Regions from separate parts of the Homo sapiens genome. Here all the other regions are linked to region 2. The links are contacts of gene promoters, found by promoter capture Hi-C in human tissues and cell types (Jung and others, 2019). All regions are on one chromosome and are shown on one strand. Each heading gives the region's core, a stretch centred on a gene start or on the middle of the fragment in contact. The rest is flanking DNA. Distances are from core to core; before and after follow the strand shown. Region 1 has its middle 63 kb from the start of TRPA1. Region 2 holds the start of TRPA1 (transient receptor potential cation channel subfamily A member 1). Region 3 has its middle 36 kb from the start of TRPA1.

Region 1 (3,329 bases), core at 666-3,165, 63 kb before region 2:
TGGGTAATTTACAAAGAAAAGATGTTCAATTGGCTCACAGTTCTTCAGGCTGTTCAGGAAGCATGGCAGCATCTGCTTCAGGGAGCTTTTACTCATGGTGGAAGGCAAAGCAGGAGCAGTCATCTTACATGGCAGGAGCAGGAGGAGGAGAAAGAGTGGGGAGGTGCCACACACTTTTAACCAGCCAGCTCTTGTGAGAACTCTGCCAGAAGGGCAGTACTAGGGGGATGCTGCTAACGCATTCATGAGAAACCACCTCCAATATCCAATTACCTCCCACCAGGCCACACCTTCAACACTGGGGATTACAATTGACACAAGATTTGTGCAGGGACACAGATCCAAACCATATCAATGGGTATATATGAAGACCCAACATCTGAAAAAAAGAAATGGAAGTTTTGTTGATTAGCGTAGGGGCAAATAGTCATATATTTTGATTGATACGGGCTATAATAAAATTTATAATAAAATTCAGAAAAGAATATGTTAAGAACATATTTTTAATAAAAAAGTAAGTAAGTGGTTTTTAAAGTAAGTGTCAAAACATAAAAGTTAGTCAGGAAAAAATTATATCCAAAGGTTATTTATTTACTTAATTCTTTATGTTGGGGTGAAAATGATAATAGTCATCCAGAAATTCAGCTCTCTGGATTGACTTATCCTCCAAGAAGTCTAGATAATTGAAATTCTACTATTTAATTATTAACTTAGTGTGAGCTTAATAAATATTATTGATTATTACCTAAATGACAAATGTAAACTAAACTTTCATTACATCCAGCTAGTAGAAGCTTTTGGGAAGAATATGATACGTAAGCAATTTTACTTTTAGTTGTGACAGGGTCATAGGTTACATAGATAAAGGGAAGCCCAGGGACATACGTTAACCTAGCTTTGTAAAGTTTTTGAATTTCTATTTTTACTTACATGCTTAGTGACAAATCGGGGAATGTGGCACCTTTGCAAGGTGAATGAGAAACTTAGTTTTAAATGTCTAAATCAAAGGGTTATGACCAATCTGGCAGTTTTACTGAATAGCGTCCATGCAGACCATGTGGCTGGGTGTAGCGCTGTAAAATGTTAAAAGTCCATGGTCAATGATCAAGGTCAGTACACCTATCAGAGTGCATTTCTGGGCAGTGAAGGAGCCTGTCCACATCAATCTGGCCGTTACCCTTGGCAGCCAGCACAACACTGGGACAAAAAAGCAGAGGAAGACACAGAGAAGAGCTCTCACAGGACACAACCACCTAGAGAAGTCTTTTTCACCTAACACATGACAGGCGGTGGACACCCAGACAGCATGGCTGAAGGGCAACCTCCTTTACACAGAATTGATGAAGACTACTTTTAAAGCCTGGCATTTGCCTGGCCTAGAGTTATCAATTACAATGAAGTCCCTAGCAAAGTAATAACCATCCCAGGGCACTTTTACACAGGACAAGAATAGCGTAAGACAAACAGTGAAGTATCAGTGGGATCTGGACACAATGTAGCACAGGAAAGGTGAGAACACTTTGCTTAAGCATATCTGCTGTTATGGGTTGAACTGTGGTCCCCCCAAATATGTGGGCTAAAGTCCTAACTTTCCATATTTCAGAAAGAGGCCTTATTTGGAAATAGGGTCATTGCAGACGTAATTAGCTAAGATGAGGTCCTGCTGGAGTAGGATGGCCCCTAATCTAATATGACTGGCATTCTTATAAAAAGGGGAAATTTGGACCCAGAGACATCACATAGGGAGGACACAATGTAAAGGGAAAGGCAGAAATCATCAGAGTGATGCTTTTACAAATGAAGGACCATTAAAGATTGCCAGCAGCCCACCAGAAGCTAGGAGAGAGGCATGGGATAGATTCTCCCTCCTAGCCTTCAGAAGGAACCAACCCTACCAACGTCTCAGAATAAGTTTTGAATTTCTTTTCTCCAGAACTGTGAGACAATAGATTTCTGTTGTTTAAGCCACCCAGGTTGTGGCACTTTGTTTATGGTTGCCCTAGGAAACCAACACACCTGTTTCTTCAGTTCCTTGGGAAGAATTAAAAACTAACTACCAGAACATCATTGTATAGCATTTATTAAGTATTGTATGGAGAGAAAGAAAAAGAAATAATAGGTAGAAACATTTTAATTAATTCTAATTGCTTTATTTCTACTCATATTTACTTGTCTATTCCTCTATCTACCTTATTTCTATCCATAGTTAAGGTAACTGCATAGAGAACTGTCCATCAATCTCATTTCATGCAGTGAGGTCAGTCATTCTCAGCTGCTTCTTGCTGTTGCTATAGTACATTCTAAGCACTATTAGAGATATTTGCATTCAAGATTCTGTTGACCTGGGGCGGGAAGGCGGGGCGCAGACCAATGAAAGTGTGCCTTGAATGGAGTGGCACATCAACCACACTCCTGTGGCGTGCACCACAGGTCAGATCAGGAAATTAACAACTATATGTTGAGCCACTACTATGTACAGGGCTCACTGTGAGGCATTTGGGGACCATACATATGTTAATAACTGCTGAGCTGGACATCAGCAGGAGTACGGGCGTCATTTTTTCAGTTTTTTATTACTAACACCCTGAATGGAAAGAAGGTGCCGAGTTGGTAGGCCAAATCACAGGACTCTTTTGACTTTATGTTGGGTTCGATATCACCAAGGCCTGGCAAAGCCTGACTGACTACAGCACCTTCCTCTTCCTCATAAAGACGTTCATTCACCAGGCATCCCTACTTTCTGGGCATTTGCAGGAGTGAAGCCTGGTCACCTAGAAACAGAATGGTCAAGAAAGTCAAAGATAGTTTATTATTATATAATTACAATAAATCACTTACATATACTTCCCCCATTTATAAAGGGAAATTTTCTCATAATCTCTAAAAATGTATATATTTATCTTCTTCATTTCTATTATGGAAGAATATTTATGGATTTAGAGGTAACATGATTTTGAAGTAGTTGATAATTGGTTTTCTGTTTATTTGCTTCGATTTTTTATGTGTGACTTTCTGGAAGATGTTTTATGGAAATCATAGAATACCGTATCCACTCTACTGTGTTCAAGAAGTCCACCGGTAATGAAAGCTTCCCGCATGTGCTACTTCGCCCTTACCAGATAAAATACCCTCTCTTCCAGGATGGCCCTCAGCAGACCGTGGCTTTTAAAACGGCATCATTGAACTACAATTAGAAGTGGCTTCCTGACTTACACACCAATTAAACTACTTTCGGAAACTATTTGCTTCCTTAATGGGATGGGAAGAGCAGCCAAACAGCAATCATGGATGCAGTGGGCAGACAAGATGAAGATTCTAGTGGAAATAAG
Region 2 (3,423 bases), core at 26-2,525:
GAAGTTGAACACCTGTATCCTCCAGCAAGCCATACTCATGGACTCATGATGTGGTTAAGTTCAATATTATCCTTCCAAGGAATTCCACTCCAGGGGTGGAATTGATGGCAACCTGCCATATCCATTGGAAGATTTAGGGGGACCTTTCATGGTTCCTCAATATCATCATGTCCACTCTGCCTAGCCCTAAGCTCAGCCCACCACAGCCCCTAGGTCAGAGAGTCCACAAACCGTTGCTGAGTGCACCTATGCCAGTTCCTGGATCCACGGGGGTCTTGAGTTAAGTGCTGGAGATGAGCAGGTGAATACGACAATCCAGGGCCTTCAGGAAGCACCGTCTGTCAAAGCAAAAGACTGTCAAAGCTACATTCTGTCCTGTGCAAGGTATAATCAGCCTTAGAAAGGTTTCTTGCGTTCTAGCCTTGTAAACCTGAACTTACGGCAACAGTTCCCTTGTCTGTACCAGACAGTTCCCTTGTCTGTACGTAAAAGTAGAACCAGCCTCTTCGATTGAGACACTTCGATTGACACTTAATGAAGAGCAGTCCTATAAATATAAGTCTCTCAAATGAAGCTGGGGGCAAACAAACTTGCACCAGTCAGCAGTGGCTTACGTTTAACCTCACCTTTTTATTAACCACCCTTAAACACCAAAGTGTGAGGGGGATCACTGTTATTATCCACAGGAAATGAGACCTGATATTCACAGGGACTTAATCTAGTCCCTCAAACCAGTGCTAGGATGTAGCTATTGTCCCAAACGTTTGGAATGAGAAGTTTTGTTAAAAACGTTATTTCCAAATCAAAGAGGCCGCCAGAAGAAGGTGCACGTGGTGGGAAACACAGGTCTGTAGGATTTTAGTTAGAAAAAACTCCTGAAAACTAAAAATCTTTCCAATATACCCAGTCATTCCCTCTTCCTCTCTCTTTACACCCCCCACCCTCCACCCAACACACACACACACACACACACACACACACACACACACACACACACACTCACATGCAAGGTTGGGGGGCAGGGCAAGGGGCCTCTTAGTTTATTATAACAAATTCTCTGCAATCCACCCCGACCTGACACGCTTGACTCCGTCAGTGCGCTGCTGCAGCTGCAGGACAGCGGGACGGGCGAGTCACTTTGTCCCTGAAGGGGCGAGTCCAAGGCAGACGCGGCGCCGCCGCCCTCTTTGCGAAGGAGCTCCGCGTTTCTACCTCCTCTCCGCGCCCCGCCTGCTTCCTGCACTACAAAAGTAGCGCGGGCCTGAGAACTCCTTCCAGAAGTTCTCCAGGGCTTCCGCAGAGCGACTTTTTCGCTGCCTGTGAGCTGCAGCGCGGGAGAGCTCGGGCTCGCGCGGACCCCAGCGCCTGGCAGGCTGACAGCGCTCTCTCGCCCCAGGTGCCCGCGCGCGTGGTGAGCAGCTGCACCAGGTGGCGTCCGGGGTGGGGTCAATGAAGCGCAGCCTGAGGAAGATGTGGCGCCCTGGAGAAAAGAAGGAGCCCCAGGGCGTTGTCTATGAGGATGTGCCGGACGACACGGAGGATTTCAAGGAATCGCTTAAGGTACTCTGGGGGCTCGCGGGTCTGGAGGGGTTCCGACGTGCGGGCGGGGGTCGGCTGGAGGTTTCCTTGGGGGCAGCCCTTGGTTTGGAGAAAGCGTGGGGGTTGCAAGCTTTGGGGTGTGTGCACAATCCAAGAGGTGACCCTACTAATGACGCGCCCACACAGCGCCTGCTTTATCTATTTTGTTTGCTTGTTTGTCCAACCGAATTCTTGCTCCTGGACGGGCAACTGCAGTCCAGGGAAACCTACTCAAAAAGTATCTGTATCATCTGGCACAAGATCGGGCAGCTGCCTAAAATCAGGACAATTTGGAATGTGTGCCGTTTCACTTGGACCTTTCCGTAGATTTTGTTTAGAACCAAATAGCCGAATGACTGTATCTGGTAGTCGTTGGATAACTATTTAAGAGTTCTGGGGGTTGAGAAGCCTTCTGGTCTAACAGAGTGAAACAGATAAACCAATTGTCTGCACTTAGAGCGTTGCAGAAAATGTCCCCAATAAAACGGAGGCAGGAGTGGCAAATTCCTTCTCCAGGGGTAGGAGCTTCAGGAAACGCTGTGGGGGAGGTGACCTTTTGAAGATGGGTGAGTGACCTGAGGCTCTAGGATGGGCACTTCTATTACTTATGCAGTTATCGGACCTAAAGGCAGCACTAGCTACTACCTGATGGCTTAGTCTAAGGGATAGAGGCTGTTGGGTGCTCAGAGCCCACCACTGGATTTCATCAGATTGTCAGCAGGAGAAAGGGGCTCTTTTAAAATGTTGAGACATCATTAAAAAGGTCTCTCCAAACCCTCATCACAAATCTCTTTCGACAGAGGGACCATGTTAACAGTTTCTTAAGAATTTTCCAGGTTAAAAAAAATGCTTACACAAAAACACACATGCTAATAGATCTTGTTTTATTTGCAAAGTTAAGAACTCACAGATTTCCACTCTGATTTACTCACAAAATGTATTTTTGAATACATTTCAAATTGGCACTTGTAGATTTACCTCACTCTTTTTACCAGCTTCATAATATTCCACTGTATGACTAGATCATGATTTATTTAACCAGTGTTGCACTGATGGACACTTAAGCTGTTTTGTGTTTGTTTTGTTTTGCTGTTACACATGTGACAGAGTATGTCTGTGAGTTTAGATGTAGCTTCTCTGTCTGTCTGTCCCTTGGTACCTTTATGGATATGTCTGTATGTCAAAGTCCTAGCAGGGTCAAGAGGTATGTACAGCTTTAATTTTGGTAGAAATTGACAAATTGCTCTCTAAGCAGGTTGCAGGAATTGGCACTATTGCCAATTGTGTGTGTGAGTCAGGCATGTATAGTTAATCACACACACCAAGTAGCCAGGCCTCCCAAGGTGAGTCTGTTGACATGTCCGGTTTGGCCACAGACATTTTTTGTCCTTCTTAATGTTAGCATGATAACTGTGGTCTTTTGGCTTACTCCAGAGAACTGAGTCATAAATAGATTTCAACCACTGGAATAGTATCTTTACAATTAATATGGTACAGGAAGAAATTTTAAATTTCTAAAATCACCCATGTGGTTTTATTTTCTAGCGATATTTGCCGAAGGATTTCTTAGCAGCGAGTCTCAAAATTATTTGTCTTCGTGTTTCTAATAGTCTTTATTTAGATTTATCATCTACGTAGAGCAACTTATGTTTTTTAAGCCTTTTAGAAGCTACATAGAGTTTGTAGATTGAAGGATTATATCTTTTATTTCATTAACTGTAGTAGTTCCATATCATTTTGTAAAAATCTCTTGTTGAACCCATGACAAAGAAACATATATAACACTATGAAGGGTTTTTTAACCTCTAGAGGGTTTTTGGTTGTTTCCTAATTTAAAAGAAAAGC
Region 3 (3,423 bases), core at 256-2,755, 36 kb before region 2:
ATCATACTTTGCTCTGTGTTTCTTTTCTCCACCTCAGTGTATGAAGTGTGTTCTTTGTAAAGTTGTACCTTTCCATTACAACCCTGGAGGGGCTGATGTGGTACATTGAAAGATGTTTGGAAAAGGGCTTTAGACCCTTGATACTTGCTTCAACCAGAGTAATTTTGTGTTTGCCTTTTGTGCATACATACTGAGATTCTGAGTGAACTTTATTTGAAAGATGTTTGGTACCGCCAGAAAAAAAAAATGTTTGAAAACCTTTGAGCACTCTCTGCTTTTCAAAGTTTCTGTTTTCTTTTGTTTTTCGATAGCCTGACATGGCTAAATCAAACCCCTCACCCATTGATATGGCCTCTTAGATTTCATTTCAGGATTTGACTCTGAATATATTTTGCTTCCACATCAACTGCTCAATACTTTATGCTCTTGGTAATTTTATAAATTCACATTTTGTAAGAAGTAATATGATGGACATAGTCAATTTTTTTCACCTTTCAGCATATGATTTCATTGCCCTTAAATTCTTTTCTCCAGACCAAAAAGCTGTAATTGCAGAGGTCACATACAGGGCAAACCTTGGCTGTGCTGAAAGTGCCCAAGATGTGGCAGATGTCCTGATATGTGTGTTGTGTGGAATTGTGGTTTCTTTATTTTTTTTTTTTTTGTCTTTATTTTTTTTTTTTTCTGAGACAGAGTCTCCCTCTGTTGCCCAGGCTGGAGTGCAATGGTGCAATCATGGCTCATGGCAAAGCCCGCCTCCTGGGTACAAGCAATTCTCCTGCCTCAGCCTCCCAAGTAGCTGGGATTACAGGCATTTGTCACCATGCCCAGCTAATTTTTTGTATTTTAATAGACACGGGATTTCACCATGTTGGCCAGGCTGGTCTCAAACTCCTGACCTCAGGTGATTCACCTGCCTTGTCCTCCCAAAATGCTCTCAGCTGCAATTTTTCTTTCTAAAGCTGAGTCATAACTTTAATAAATGACTCAACGTATTTGACAACTATTTTGTCCTACTGCATTACACTATACTTTTGGGAAAAAGGCAAAACTATGTACACCAAAAATTATTTAGCAAAGTTAAAATAGTAGCATTCCAGAAACGTTGGAAGGGGAAAGACTTTTTATTCTGATAATTTATAGATACATTCAAATGTGTATGACTAAAAGCTGTGTTTCATTATTTACGGGAAGTGTAACATGCTTTCTTATTTTTATTTTTCTTGGAAAAAGTTGTTATTAAAAAAACAAGCTTTTTAAATCTTATACCTTTTACTTATTTTTTATTTTTATTGATACATAGTATTTGTGCATGTTTATGTGGCACATGTGATATTTTGTTACATGCATGGAATGTGTAATGATCAAGTCAGAATATTTGCGGTATTTTCTAGTTATTTTGAAGTATACACTATATTGTTGTTATAGTTACTCTACTCTGCTATAATTTATTCCTTCTAACTGTATGTTTGCACCCATTAATCAACATCTCTTTATCCCCCTTACACCATATTTAAGATATGAAATCAACCTGTATCCATCAGTGAACAAATGGATAAAGAAAATGTGGTGTATATATACACAGTGGAATACTATTTAGCCATAAAAAATAATTGAATCATGTAATTTGCAGCAACATGGATGGAACTGGAGGTTAATATGTTAAGTGAAATAAGCCATGTATGGAAACACAGGTATAGATGTGGGAGCTAAAACAGTTGATCTCATGGAGGTAGAAAGTAGAATGATTCACACCGGCAAAGCTTTCAGTGGTTACGTGGAGCTAGAGTAATGAATTGGAAATTTAAGGGGTTTAATTGCATTAAAAATTTTCTCACAGGTCATTTTGTGAGTTCTAGGTCTGTCTGTACAGGAGGCTGAGGAGGAATGCAAAACACTTCTAAAGAGCAGAGAGGGAGATTCAGTAGTTTTACACCTAAAATATGCCTGCCAATACTCCTCAAGATACTCACCAAAATTTAATTCCATGTGAGATAAGGACCTAAAGAGGTCAATTGACTATCTCTGATGCCAGAAATCAATCTACAATGTTTCAAAAGCAAGGAAGCAAGCAACAAAAATATCTCAATTAAGATCCTGGAAATTACATGTCTTTAAAATAGACATGAATCATACCTAAACTGCATCTTCTTAAAACTGCAACTCAACTCTGACTTGGCACAATTCCTGATGGAATTGAGATGTTCATTCTTTCTACCTACCTTTCTAAGAAAGGAAATAGGGGAACCTCTTTTATGGAGACTTACATTAACTAGAGCCTTTATGTTTTTTTTTTTAATACCAAATGTCTCACATGCAATCAACAATTTCTAAACAGACAGTTGACTCATGAATGATCTTAGATATAGAAGTTAACAGATGAAGACATTAAAGTTCCATCAACAGTATTAATTCAGTGTTAATACAGTGATGTAAAAGTAGGCAAAGTGAACAAGAGGATTGAATACACAATCAGGATATAAATCTACAGATATTTAGACACCTGGTTTATGACAAAACTGAACTAGTAATGCACCTGACAAAAATAACTTAATGGTGCTGGGTTAATTAGATGTTCATATGAAGGACAAATGTACTTTCCCTATCTCATGGCATATATAAAAATCAATTTCATATAGATTATCCATCTATATGTGATAGGAAAAATATCAAAGTTTTTAGAAAGAAATGTAAGAAGTCATCTTTGTGACTTGGAGTAGGCAAAGGTTTTTTAAAATACTACATGAAAAGCATTAAAGATAAAGGAAAACGTTGATAAAGGGGACTATGTTAAAATCAAGAATTTCTGTATATTAAGACACCATTAAGACAACCCACAGAATGGAGAAAGATATTCTCTCACATATACCTGAAAAAAACTTGTATCCAGAACATATGAAGAGTTTTTACCAATCAATTTAAAAAATAGACACATCCAAAGAGAAAATATTGATATTTAAACATACGTTATGTACATACATTATGTACATTATAAAAGAGAATATCCAAATACCCTGAGTATAATAAGTTACATAATTGAGTATAATAAGATACTCAACTTTGTTGCTGTCAGGGAATTGCAAAATAAAACCACAATGTGGCATCACAATACTCCTACCAGAAATAAAAAATGAAAAATATGGAAAATACCAAGTGTTGACAAAGTTGTGGAGAAAGTAGAACACTTAATGCAGATATGAATATAAATTTGTATAGCTCCTTTGGTAAACAGTTTAGTGGTGTCTAATATAACTGAAAATATAATAACCTATGACCCAATAACTTATTTTTAGGTATATATTCAACAAACAATCATAAGCATATGCTCACTGAAGGATATGAAATAGAATTTTCACAGTGCCACTATTTGTAACAGCAAAAATCCTGAAAATTCTGAATGTCTATCAATAGTTAAATGCATAA

The links. Contacts are between HindIII fragments. The study calls those that stand out against the background at their distance.
Region 1: a fragment that was not itself captured here is called in contact with the fragment with the promoter of TRPA1 in region 2 in 1 of the 25 tissues and cell types used here (H1 embryonic stem cells).
Region 3: a fragment that was not itself captured here is called in contact with the fragment with the promoter of TRPA1 in region 2 in 1 of the 25 tissues and cell types used here (H1 embryonic stem cells).

The regions. Positions count from the first base shown.
Region 1 is chr8:72,136,780-72,140,108 of GRCh38, reverse strand. No RefSeq gene overlaps it. Among named protein-coding and RNA genes, the nearest start is that of TRPA1, 63 kb to the right of the region's middle. The HindIII fragment of the contact is 3,795 bases long and covers 18-3,329 here.
Region 2 is chr8:72,073,436-72,076,858 of GRCh38, reverse strand. TRPA1 (transient receptor potential cation channel subfamily A member 1) reads left to right here and starts at 1,275. Exons shown (of 27, transcript NM_007332.3): 1 at 1,275-1,560. The coding sequence starts at 1,450. RefSeq lists an enhancer at 899-1,470. The HindIII fragment of the contact is 6,537 bases long and covers 1-3,423 here.
Region 3 is chr8:72,109,718-72,113,140 of GRCh38, reverse strand. No RefSeq gene overlaps it. Among named protein-coding and RNA genes, the nearest start is that of TRPA1, 36 kb to the right of the region's middle. The HindIII fragment of the contact is 4,383 bases long and covers 1-3,423 here.